Regions from separate parts of the Homo sapiens genome. Here region 1 is linked to region 2. Evidence: promoter capture Hi-C in 16 types of primary human blood cells and fetal thymus (Javierre and others, 2016). All regions are on one chromosome and are shown on one strand. The core of a region is centred on a gene start or on the middle of the fragment in contact, and the rest is flanking DNA. Distances in the headings are between cores, read along the strand shown. Region 1 has its middle 170 kb from the start of LINC00621. Region 2 holds the start of FGF9 (fibroblast growth factor 9).

Evidence for each region. The method cuts DNA at HindIII sites, captures the fragments that hold promoters and counts their contacts. A CHiCAGO score of 5 or more calls a contact.
Region 1: a fragment that was not itself captured here is called in contact with the fragment with the promoter of FGF9 in region 2 in 4 of 17 cell types (M2 macrophages, megakaryocytes, M0 macrophages and 1 more); the score reaches 7.2 in M2 macrophages.

The regions. Positions count from the first base shown.
Region 1 is chr13:22,744,462-22,750,445 of GRCh38, forward strand. No RefSeq gene overlaps it. Among named protein-coding and RNA genes, the nearest start is that of LINC00621, 170 kb to the right of the region's middle. The HindIII fragment of the contact is 1,276 bases long and covers 4,016-5,291 here.
Region 2 is chr13:21,667,147-21,672,971 of GRCh38, forward strand. FGF9 (fibroblast growth factor 9) reads left to right here and starts at 3,927. Exons shown (of 3, transcript NM_002010.3): 1 at 3,927-5,043. The coding sequence starts at 4,767. RefSeq lists silencers at 2,745-3,004, 3,785-3,834, 3,855-3,914. The HindIII fragment of the contact is 3,792 bases long and covers 1,597-5,388 here.

The DNA.
Region 1 (5,984 bases), core at 3,404-5,903, 1.1 Mb after region 2:
ACCAGAGTTTGAGGAGAATTGAGGAGAATTACAAAAAAGATTCAATTAGTTTTTTGTTGTTGTTGTTGTTTTTGTTTTTTGTTTTTTGTTTTTTTTTTTTACCAGTTGTTAGCATTTCTAGTAAAAAGACTTGGGTGTAGTAGAATACTGAAGCTAGGGCTAAAATAAAATTTAGGACCTCTCTGTAGATTTCATTTAATTCTATTACTACTTCTGAAATGGGAAAATTCCCTTGTCCCCCTTGCAGGGCATGCGATGGGGGTGTGGCTCACTTCTTCAGCGCCCCACTGCTCAAACCTTTAGGGGAGCATACAGAGGGGCAGGCTGTGGGGCTCCAACTCCAGGCAGTGTCTAGGGCTGAATGTTTACAGCCGAAGCTCCAGTGGGCATGTGTTACAGTGTGCTTTCAGTTTTGCCGCCTATAGGCAGTTTGTGTGAGTCAGCTCAACTGGATCCCTGCCTTATTGCAACTACAGAGGGCTTTCTGTATCCCGAGGTTCTTGCCCCAGAAGAATCGGATCACACGTGGGCTTGGAGAATGAGTACAAGGTTTTATCGAGTGGAAGTAGCAGATGGCAGAAGACAGAACGGAATGGAGTGGGAAGGTTTTCCCCTAGAGTCGGGCCGTTTAGTGGCCCGGGCTCTCCTCTGCCCCAGCCAAACTGCAGGTTGTTCTGCTTCTGCCCGTCGGTGGCCTGGTGTGCCAGCATGCCGGTGCCTGTCGCTGTGTTCCTCTAGGCATCCAGCCGCCCGTGCGCTCCTCTGCCTATCTGCTCCTCTCTAGGCCCAGCAGCTTGTGTGTCTGCCTGCTAGGGTTGTGGCCGGGGCAGGGGTGGTGGGGTGGTTATAGGCGTGGCAGTCCAGGGTGATCTTGGGAAATGCAACAAAAATGCCTGTCCTCACCCAGTGGTGGAGCCCTCGCCGGGGACCATCCTTCCTCTACCCAGCACTTCCGTTCCCCACTTCCATATCATTTAAAGGGACCAGCTCTTCCCTTCCCAGCACTTCCCTTCCATATCACTTCCATCACCAACATGGGCAGTTAGGTGTTAATCGGAGAATCTGAATCACAAAGAATGACTTCTAAATAAAAGAGCCTTTAAAAACTCTCATCTGATGTTTTGGTTGAAAGATGCTAAAAATACAATAAAATAAAAACTAAGCTCATTCAAGAGAAATATTAAAATATCCTCCAGCCAGCAAAAGTACTCCTTAAAATATTACGCCAATAACACAACTTTTAATTTTATTTTAAAAATATGTTTCTTCTATGAGTTAATGTGATATTTTAAAAAGATAACTGTAAATATCAAATGGCCCTGCAGCTCCCTTTCCATGTATTTATGCTTAGTGGTGATTCAGAGACCTTGCTGTGATAATCATTTTCAACTTAATCTTAGACTCAACAGAGAAATACTCCCTGAAGAAATAAGTACAGATTGTAGTTTGAAAAGGAAATGACATTTCAACTTTTTTATTTACTCATTCTTGTTTCACTTTAATATAGTGTCATGCAAATATAATTTCCCCTAAGTCAAGTAAAATAGAAGCATTAATTTGGTTTCCACTCTTGTATCTATATTTTCTGTGTGCATATGTAGAGGTATGAATTTCTAAAGAGAGAAAATATTTTTTCTTTTTTCTAAACATGTGTCATTATATATATATATATATATATATATTTTTTTTTTTTTTTTTTTTTTTTTTTTTGAGACAGAGTCTTGCTCTGTTGCCCAGGCTGGAGTGCAGTGGCACAATCTCAGCTCACCGCAACCTCCGCCTCCTGGGTTCATGCCATTCTCCTGCCTCAGCCCCCTCCCCGAGTAGCTGGGACTACAGGGGCCCGCCACCACACCCGGCTAATTTTTTGTATTTTTAGTAGAGATGGGGTTTCACCGTGTTAGCCAGGATGGTCTCAATCTCCTGACTCGTGATCCGCCAGTCTTGGCCTCCCAAAGTGCTGGGATTACAGGCATGAACCACCTCACCCGGCCACCTATGTCCAATATTCTATACTGTGGGACAGAATTACATTACGAAACCTTCCAAAAGTTGTTAAAACCCATTATGTGCTAATAGAAAAAATAATTTTCTTGTGTTTGCAGTTATTCATGTGATGAATCTAACTTCATGAGCATTATATTTAGAATTCAGTATGAATTTCTACCCTATCAGCTGTAGCGTGGATTCTCTGAAAGACAATGGAGATTAAACAATTTTACTGTACAGAACTGCATGCTGGCTCATGGTCTCAATTTTGAAGTTAAATGAAATGAAAAGTGTAGATTTTTTTTTTTTTTTGAGACAGAATTTTGCTCTTGTTGCCCAGGCTGGAGTACACTGGCTCAATCTTGGCTCACCGCAACCTCTGCCTCCTGGGTTCAAGTGATTCTCCTCCCTCAGCCTTCTGAGTAGCTGGCATTACAGGCATGCACCACCATGCCAGGCTAATTTTGTATTTTTAATAGAGATGGGGTTTTCCATATTGGTCAGACTGGTCTCGAACTCCCAACCTCAAGTGATCTGCCTGCCTCAGCCTCCCAAAGTGCTGGATTGCAACTATTTCCTGAAATCCATTACTTTCATAAAGAAATCTACTCTTAACACCAAGCCTGTGCCTGACCAAACACCACTGTCCCAATACATCAGTGATATATTTACTCCCCACTAATTATTTCCTTGAGATTTTTTGAATTATTAACTTTTCTACAGAATAAAGAAACATAATTATGAAGACAAATGTTATAATTCACTATGTTGAGAAATAGTTTAACATGAATTATACTTTAAGCCCATGGATGAAAGTTTGTTCTTGGTAATTTTCTTTCAACACAATGACTTTTACCCCATTCTTAAGCAATTTAAACACCTAACAGGATTGCAAACACTTTCTGTCATCTTCACTAGGCCATTGGTTAATTTCTGAAAGTCTACAGAAAAATAAATTTAAAAAGCAATGCACTTCTAATTATAAGATGTGAGTTCTGCCAGGTTCACCCCTATGCCCCACAAAAATTAACTTTTGGTGGTTTCAGATTTCTCATCCCCAACACTGCCTCACCTAAATGGAGCTGGATTTGATGTGTAATTGACAACTTTTCAACACCTACAATTTTTGACATATTCTAATCCATATTGGTAGCTCTATTTTTAAGTATATTTTCTGCTGAAAATACTATTGCCACTAATAATACATGTCTACCTTTTTATTAATCAATAGTAGATGCATGTCCAGTTACCTAGCTATTTAGGGTTTCTTGTGAGAATGAAATAATAATTATTGTCAACTGTTACTGATGATACATGTCTACCTTTTTGTTAATCAATAGTAGATGCATGTCTAGTTACTTAGCTATTTAGGGTTTCCTGTGAGAATGAAACAATCATTGTTGTCATTCTTAATTGATGTAACTTTAGCCAAAAGAAAAAAGTCTTAATATTTCAAGTAGTCTGAACTGCATCAGCACCAACGTAGCTTAGATCCCTTTTCTCAATTTTATATTGGGAACCATTTCACCAGATGATCTCAGATACTTTCCCTCACAACCATTTGATAAAGCATCATTCAATCACTCACAAGCAAGTTGAAAAAGCATCGTGATGTCTTTAAAGTATAATCCTGCCATGTCAACTTTAAAAATGAAACATATTTAGGCTATACCATCAGCTGTAGCAAGCAGGGATCCTATGCAGATTTTCAGGTACTTCTCCCATCCAATGGGTTCACTGCAGTATTGCTGTATTGAATTTCCACATGAGGAGCCAGCAATCTACACTGAAGGAGAATGTACCTGTCTACTGGCACAACGCAGCAAGAGCCCTATGTATGGAACACCTTCAGGCCACACCCTGAGGAACAGACAAAGTTATATGCAGTTCAGTATCCGTCTTCTTACAAACTATTTGATAGAACAAGATATAGCCACATTTCATAAACCGAATAATACAGCATAACAAATTGTCCGGGACAATTAATTATATAGTGACTGCTATGACTTCTGAAGAGTCTCGGGAAAGCTTCATGGATAAGTCTGACTCAAATCAACAAGAAGGATGGTTGTGATTTAGATTGGCTGAAGCAAGGAGGCCACCATTCCAGACCAGAAATCTCTTTCCAAAGAGCAAAATCAAACTAATTTTTAGGGGCAGAAAACATGTTTTCTTGCTTGAACTAGTGTATTCTGAAGGAGCGACAGCTAAAGATATTTACATTAGAAAGAAACAACTAATTAGTGATGATCCTGTGTGATATGGTTTGGCTGTGTTCCTACCCAAATCTCATCTTGAATTGTAGTTCCCATAATCCCCACATGTAGTGGGTAGGGCCCAGTGGAACGTAATTGAATCATGGGGGCAGTTACCCTCATGCTGTTCTCTTGATAGTGATTGAATTCTCACTAGAGTTGATTGTTTTATAAGGGGATTTTACCCCTTGGCTTGGCATTTCTCTCTCCTGCTGCCTTGTAAGAAGGACATGTTGCTTCCCCTTCCACCATGATTGTAAGTTTCCTGAGGCCTTCCCAGCAATGTGGAGCTGTGAGTCAATTAAATCTTTTTCCTTTATAAATCACCCAGTCTCGAGTATTTCTTCATAGCAGCGTGAGAACAGACCAATACACTGTGTTACTCAGATTATATGCAAAAGTTCATTGAAAAAAAGAAAACATTTGCACAGATCATTAGTTTGAGAAAAGGTGATTCTTTCCCTTTCGCACTTACCAGGAAGATAAAAGGAAGGAGCTGATGAGCACATAAGAAAGGAGTTGTGAGTACAAGGATTTTTATCACAGAGACCAGCAGTAAAGCAGTTTCCTGAGAATGGCCCAAGAGAAGCACGGAAGGAAATTTATATTAAAATTCTGGTGTATTTCCCAGATGTTTCCCACGTCTAGACAGTTAGTGAACAGAGATGAATATCTTTAGTCTTACTTAATGTAGCAAAAATCTCCCCTTTTTAAAATGTCTGCCTAGACTTCCAAAGTGGGTGTGACTTAGAACTGATAGTCAAAGTATGACTCAAACAATAGGAAGCTAATGTGAATTTATCTAATTTTTGTGTTCTGTTTTCATAAGGAGAGCTGATAGTTTCCTTGGTATCAAGACCTTTTTTAAAAGGAAAAAAAATAAGAAAATGGAAAACAACAAAAACAAAAAAAAAACAGTTGATCTGATTCTGTGGCCTGACCAAAATACCTAGTGTCAAATGCTTTTGTAAAAAAAAATTCAACTTTCTTGGAATTGTTTTGTGACATTAAGATAGTGTTAGTTCCCATATCCTATCTCTCATATGAAGCTTCATTGAATTCCAGCATAGGAAGAGACTCAAGAATTCAGCTACTCCTACCTTTCACTGCAGAAGCTATGATGGAGCCCAGGGAGTATTTTTAATGAGCCAACAACCTCATCCTAATGCCAAAAAGCTCTCTGTAGTTATTTTGAAAATGCAAGATGGTCATCATCTCATCAGAGAAGGAATGTATAGGTACAGATTAATAAATACACGAATGAAAAAAATCCATGCCACTTTCTCAGTGTGGTAAAGAATTTTCATGACCACTGATGAATACAATACTTTACTTTGATTTATTGTAGCTAAAAAGAAATTTTTTTAAGAAAAATTGTTTCTGAGAAAGGCAGAGTTGAATTAGTTTGAGAAGAATTTGAGCCTGAGGAAAGAAGCATTATCACTGCTGCATCCTTGGCAGCCTAGCAGAGAATTCTGGTAACTCTTACACTTAAATTTCCATTCTGGGACTGAGAACCTGCTTTCTTACAGGTTTTGCTTAGGAAGTACAGCACATCTGATGACTTCTGCTTAGAGATTGTCACATCTTGAAAAATATTTCCTTCATATAGAGTGCATAGGACTCTAGACTTTAAAATATCCACGTTTGATATAGACATGTTAATTAACTTTAGCACTGTACTAAGTGACTCTCTAGTGTCCGGAGTACTACATGGAGCACGCATACTTCTGAGTCAAG
Region 2 (5,825 bases), core at 2,677-5,176:
ACTTTCCTTTCCTTTTTAAAAAACCTATTGTAACTGGGGTCTTTTCCTTCCTTCATTTTGTCTTCTAATTGGTTGTTGTTCATATACACTCAGTGTAACTGGTTGTTGATATATACAAGTATATATGCCCATCATTTATTTCTGTGTATTTTGAGAAGACATCCTATTAAACAATTTAAAAGTATATGCCTGTTATAATCGAGGGCAGTGTTACACAATGAGGGTCTGATGTCTATGAACTTGGCTCCACCATTTATTAGCACTGTGGCAATAGGCAGGCTACTTAATTTCTATAAGCCACAGTTTCCTCATCTATAATATGGGATAAAATAATACCTCATAGGACAGTTTTCAATATTAAGAAGATAAAGCACAAAAGCACTTAGCAGGGTGTTGGAAACACAGTAAGCAGTCAATAAATGGTGGCTACAAAGGTTCTATCCTCTTACCATGAAACTCAAACCTAGTTCCTGGGGTCACACTGGGAATAGACTTCAACCTTCCCAAACCATTCCCCTCCATCCCATGCTCCTTACAGCTCCTAAACAAAAGCCCATAAGTAGATTGAAGGGTTGTGGGGTGGGGAGGAGGAGAACGAAGGAAACAGATGGAAGGGCAGAGGCCCAGTGACACCTTTACTGCAGAGAAGGAATGAAATGACTCTGTACTGATTTGCATCTGGGGGTCCAGGGAAACTGAAGGAAGACAAGCTAATGAAGAAAGAGGGGAAGGTGGACTTTTTCCAAAGGGCCACTTCAAATTTGCAGAGGACTTTATAGCTGACAGGCCACTTTAACCTACATGAACCAGTCTTCACAGCAAAGAGCTGGGACCCGTGAGGAGAGGGCCCGTAGCCACACATGGAGTAGGCAGAGGGTCAGATGATGTGTTTCAGATCTGCAGACTCCCATTCCAGTGCTCATTCCTCTTCATAGCCCTCTTTTACTTCTCTTGTCATTTATTCCCATTTGGGCCTAAGTACTAAACTGACCACAGAAAAGACAGATGACAAAGATGATAGAAAACACAGGAAAGGGGAAGAAAGGAAAGTACGAGGAGTTAAAACGTTTTGAGAAGACAGAGCCTCAGGGAGCTTTGGGATTAAAATCAATAACAGTATTTGCTGAATACCCCCATGGGAGAAATCCATGGGGGAACTATATAAGGAATAGTGTAATGATAGCGACTATGTCTTGAGGGTCTATTGTGTGCTGCTTGTTTCGTGTGCATTTTTTTTTCCTTTTACTCCTAACAACAGTCTTTCGAGGCAGGAGTTATTAACCCAATTACACCACGTGTCTCTAGAAGGCAAGGCCTCAGTCTTCTTTGTGTACTAACATCTATGTACTCACTGAAGAAGACTTGTAAAACATACTCATAGTCCTGGACATAGGAGTTCATGGTTTTGCCAGAGCTGTGAAGGAACCTTGAGGATGTCAGCCCTAACGAGTGGGGTGAGTACAGGAAAAATGTGATGTGGCCAATGCAAGGAAGGACACTGTTTCTCTTACTACAATAAGAAAAACAACCCGACCAAATCAACCAACAAAACCAAGCAAGAGAAATCTGATGGTGAAGTGGCGAGGAAGCAGCAAAAGCTTCTTGCAGCTGGAGTTAGGGATGCGGATGAAAGGTGGATCAAGCCAACTGCAAGTGGGGGAGGCTGCTCAACCTGGGAAAGTGCTCCATCAGCTACTTCGCCCTCTCTTCCACTGCTGCAACGCTTTTTAAAGCGACAGTCACACGCTGCAGGATTCGGAAGCGGAAATGGTCTTTGCTCATTGGATGACAATCTAAATTCAGATCGAAAGAATGTGGTTGGAGACAGCTGGTGGAAATGGTCCCAGTCTTGTCTTCACTGGAAATGTCCAATGTCCACGTGCTGCTCGTTTCTCTTCTTATGAAGCGTCTCCCTGTCTCTCTGGGCCTGTCTCTGTTTCTTCCATCGCTTTTTTCCCCACTAAGTAACCATCCCGGCGCACTGTACCCAACTGGTCGAGGAACGCCCCTGCTGTACCCATCACTGCTGGCTGCCTCGGAGATTAATGCGAGCGACTCGGGTGGTTTATGAGAAGTGACACTTAATACCCAGCTTCTTGTATCTGCCGCCGAGCAGTTAACGTTAAAGCCCGCTCTGTACCACCGCGGATGTGACTGCTGTAAATACCACGGGGCAGGGCTCTCATGCTTCAGAAACACGTAAGCAAGACGCACCGAGCCAGCCCCGGACACCCAATGACCCTGGACTGCGGCAAAGGGGGGGTGGGAAAGGAAGAGGGGAGGACCACTCGCTCTTCTCTCCTTCCTCCTCGCCCGGGCCGGAGCACGCCTTCCTCCCCGGAGGGCAGGGGAAGGTCGCTCCAGGTCGCTGGCACCTCCAGCGCCCCCGAAATCTGCAAATTCATCGCTCCCTTTCGTCTTCAGGCGAAGCCCTCCCGTCCGGAGTAGGGCCAGCCCCAGTTATGCATCTCCAGCCTTTAGCTGACTACTAAGGCGGATCCGACTTCTCCCCCATAACCAGGTTTTGATTCGCTTCCCCACCGCAGGGGTTCAGTCTCTGCTTTCGACTTTGCTTCTCAGTTGCACGCCCCGCAGTGTGGAGCTGCGCTCAAGTCTCGGCAACTTTCACCATCTTGACCCGAGAGTCGGGCCGTTTCTAAGACAATGTGAACAAAGAGGAGCAGGGGGAGGGAAGGGGGGCCCCGCGGGAGGGCTGTGGGCGAGTGTGTGTGTGTGTGTGTGTGTGTGTGTGTGTGTGTGTGTGTTGGGGGGCGCCGCGCTCCGCGCCCGCCGCCACTGGGGATCCGGGCGCAGGCAGGCTGTCCCGGGCGCAGAGCGCGCCGCCTCCAGTCTCTCTGGCGGGCCCGGCCCGGCAGGGCCCCTGGCGGCCCCCGGAGGCGGGTTTCTTTGTCCCTGACTCCCGCTGGGCGCGAAGGCCGCCGGCGGCTAACAGAAACCCGAGCCCGCGCAACGGAGCTCAGGCTTCCACGTGCGGCCCCGCAGGGCAGAGCAGGAAGGAGCGGCTGCAGCCCCGGGGCGCCCCGCAAGCATCCAGTGCCCGGCCCTCCCAGCTCCGCGGCGGGCTTCGGACGGTGGAGTGAGACACCAGAACTCGCCTTTCGCTTCCCCGAGCCGATGCACGGCTTGGGATGGCGCCGCTCGTCCTAAGCAGCGTGGTTTGAGGGCGAGAAGACGCCTACTGGAGCGCTCCCCTCCACCCAGACTCCCGAAGACGCGCGCCCGAGTCGAAGTCGGGGACAGAGAAGGTTCTCTGGCGCCCCCCTGCCGACTGCTTTGCGGCCGCCGGGACCCGAGCAGCGGGGCGGGACCTAAACATAGCCCCAACCCAAAGATGCCCAGCAGAACGCTCCAAACAAAACAGAAACGGTGGCCGCATCTGCGTGTGTGTGTGTGTGTGTGTGTGTGACGGGGGAGAGGAGTTGATCTTACCTGAAACATAGTTTGCGCTTCTGTGTGTGTGGCCGAAGAATGGAAGAGAAACTGCCATGGCCATCCGAGTCCATTAAATCAACTCCCCTTCCCTCCGACTCTCTCAACTCAGTCATATTCTATAATACAACGCAAGGTTACAGAGCCCCAGTGAAAACTAGTTTCCCAGTTTCACTCTGACCCTCCATCAATGTAGCCAGCCAGCTAGATTGTAGGTTACCGGCTTCTATTCTGCAGGAGAACTTTGAGTCTCGGGAGACTCAGGGTTTCTTCCTCCCGCCTCTCGCAGTGCATCTTTCATTTGCTTTTCTTTGTAAAGCCAGGGCTCCTCGACTGCCTCCCAGGAAGTCCTGCGCTCTGGCGCGCCGCACCTCGCCTGCCGCAGAGCGGCGCGGGCAGTAAGCCGGGCGCTAGGACCGCGGGGAGCCCGGGCTGCGGCGGCGCTACCTTAAACCCAGCCCAATGCCGCTGCCTGCGCCACTCTGCGCGCCGGCGGGGGCTGCGCAGGAGGAGCGCTCCGCCCGGCTACAACGCTCCGCGAGCCGGCGCGGCAACACCTGTTCGCGGCAGCCTGGGCGGCACGCGAGCTCCCGGACGCGGCTCTCCTCGCTCGCCGCTCGCCACCCGTTCTAAGCCAATGGACATCTGCCGAGCCTCTGGAGAATCCTGGATACTAGCTTTGGACGCCTAAAGTTTCTTCTTCTTTTTGTTTTATTATTATTATCATTTTTTGGAGGGGGGACCGGGAGGGGAGATTTGTCGCCGCCACCAACGTGAGATTTTTTTTTCCCCTTGAAGGATTCATGCTGATGTCTGCAGAGTCGGTTAGAGAGTAAAAACAGCGCATGCCTTCCTGGAGTCAGGATCCGTAAATTCTGACGTAGCCCGTGCATCTTAAAAATCCCTATAATAACGCCTAGGCATTTAAGTTGCTATGGTCATTCTGATCTCAAACCAAATGGAGAAACTACGGATTTTTTTTCCTTATTACGGTCGGATGGGATGAAGACCTTCCTGCCTGCTAAGAGCTGGGGATCTATCTATAGAGATACATAGATATGTTTATCAATATGTCAGTGTGTGAGTATAAAGTGGTGGTTTCTTAGACTATCAGTGGTTTGACCTTGAACCTGTGCCAGTGAAACAGCAGATTACTTTTATTTATGCATTTAATGGATTGAAGAAAAGAACCTTTTTTTTCTCTCTCTCTCTGCAACTGCAGTAAGGGAGGGGAGTTGGATATACCTCGCCTAATATCTCCTGGGTTGACACCATCATTATTGTTTATTCTTGTGCTCCAAAAGCCGAGTCCTCTGATGGCTCCCTTAGGTGAAGTTGGGAACTATTTCGGTGTGCAGGATGCGGTACCGTTTGGGAATGTGCCCGTGTTGCCGGTGGACAGCCCGGTTTTGTTAAGTGACCACCTGGGTCAGTCCGAAGCAGGGGGGCTCCCCAGGGGACCCGCAGTCACGGACTTGGATCATTTAAAGGGGATTCTCAGGCGGAGGCAGCTATACTGCAGGACTGGATTTCACTTAGAAATCTTCCCCAATGGTACTATCCAGGGAACCAGGAAAGACCACAGCCGATTTGGTAGGTATACCATTAACCCTTTAGTGTCCATGAGATGACATGTTGAAATTATAACTACCAAGAAGGTGGTGGCCGGGTGGGGGACGTGGGAAGGGTTCTCCCCTCCTCCCCTCTTTCTCTGTATCTCTGTCTCTCTCTCTCTCTGTCTTGCCAGCTCCGAAAAAAAAATGCCTCCGGAATTGCAGATCTGCTGCTGGCACTGATGCAAGTATACACTGAAAGGCCCCCTACTTTTAATTTAAAGGGGGGCATAATTTATAAATATAATACAAGTTTCCAGTTCTTTTGCATCAGATACACGGGTTTAGGAAGTTTCTTTTGAATGGACTGATTGCACGAGTTTAAAGCTTTAATCATTAACTACTAAGAACTTAATGCAGTTTCTTGAAGGCAGTGGGTATCTTGTGCCCAAATTAAGGTTTTTTTCCTTTCCCCCTTTCCTCTAGTAAGTATACTACTTGAATTGTATATTAAGTGCATTGTTTATTCTCCCCTGTGAGGGTCTGAAAGCCCCATAGGCGAAGGTTGCTGACGGATTGTCCTGTTGGGAGGACTAAAGTCATATTTTAGGCTCCGTGAAAAGCAGGGGCAGAGGCTTGGGGGAAAATGACTTGGGAAGAGGCAGGGCGCTCAGGGGTTTTTGTCCTTCCAGCTATCAAGTGATAACCTCTGCTTTTAAATTTCCATAGTGTGCAGCCCTGTGTAGGTCTCCTGCGTGGCTCTCTGGTGTGAGTGTGTGCGCGCGTGCAAACGCTGCGAGCGAATTTTAAAGGGCATTCCGA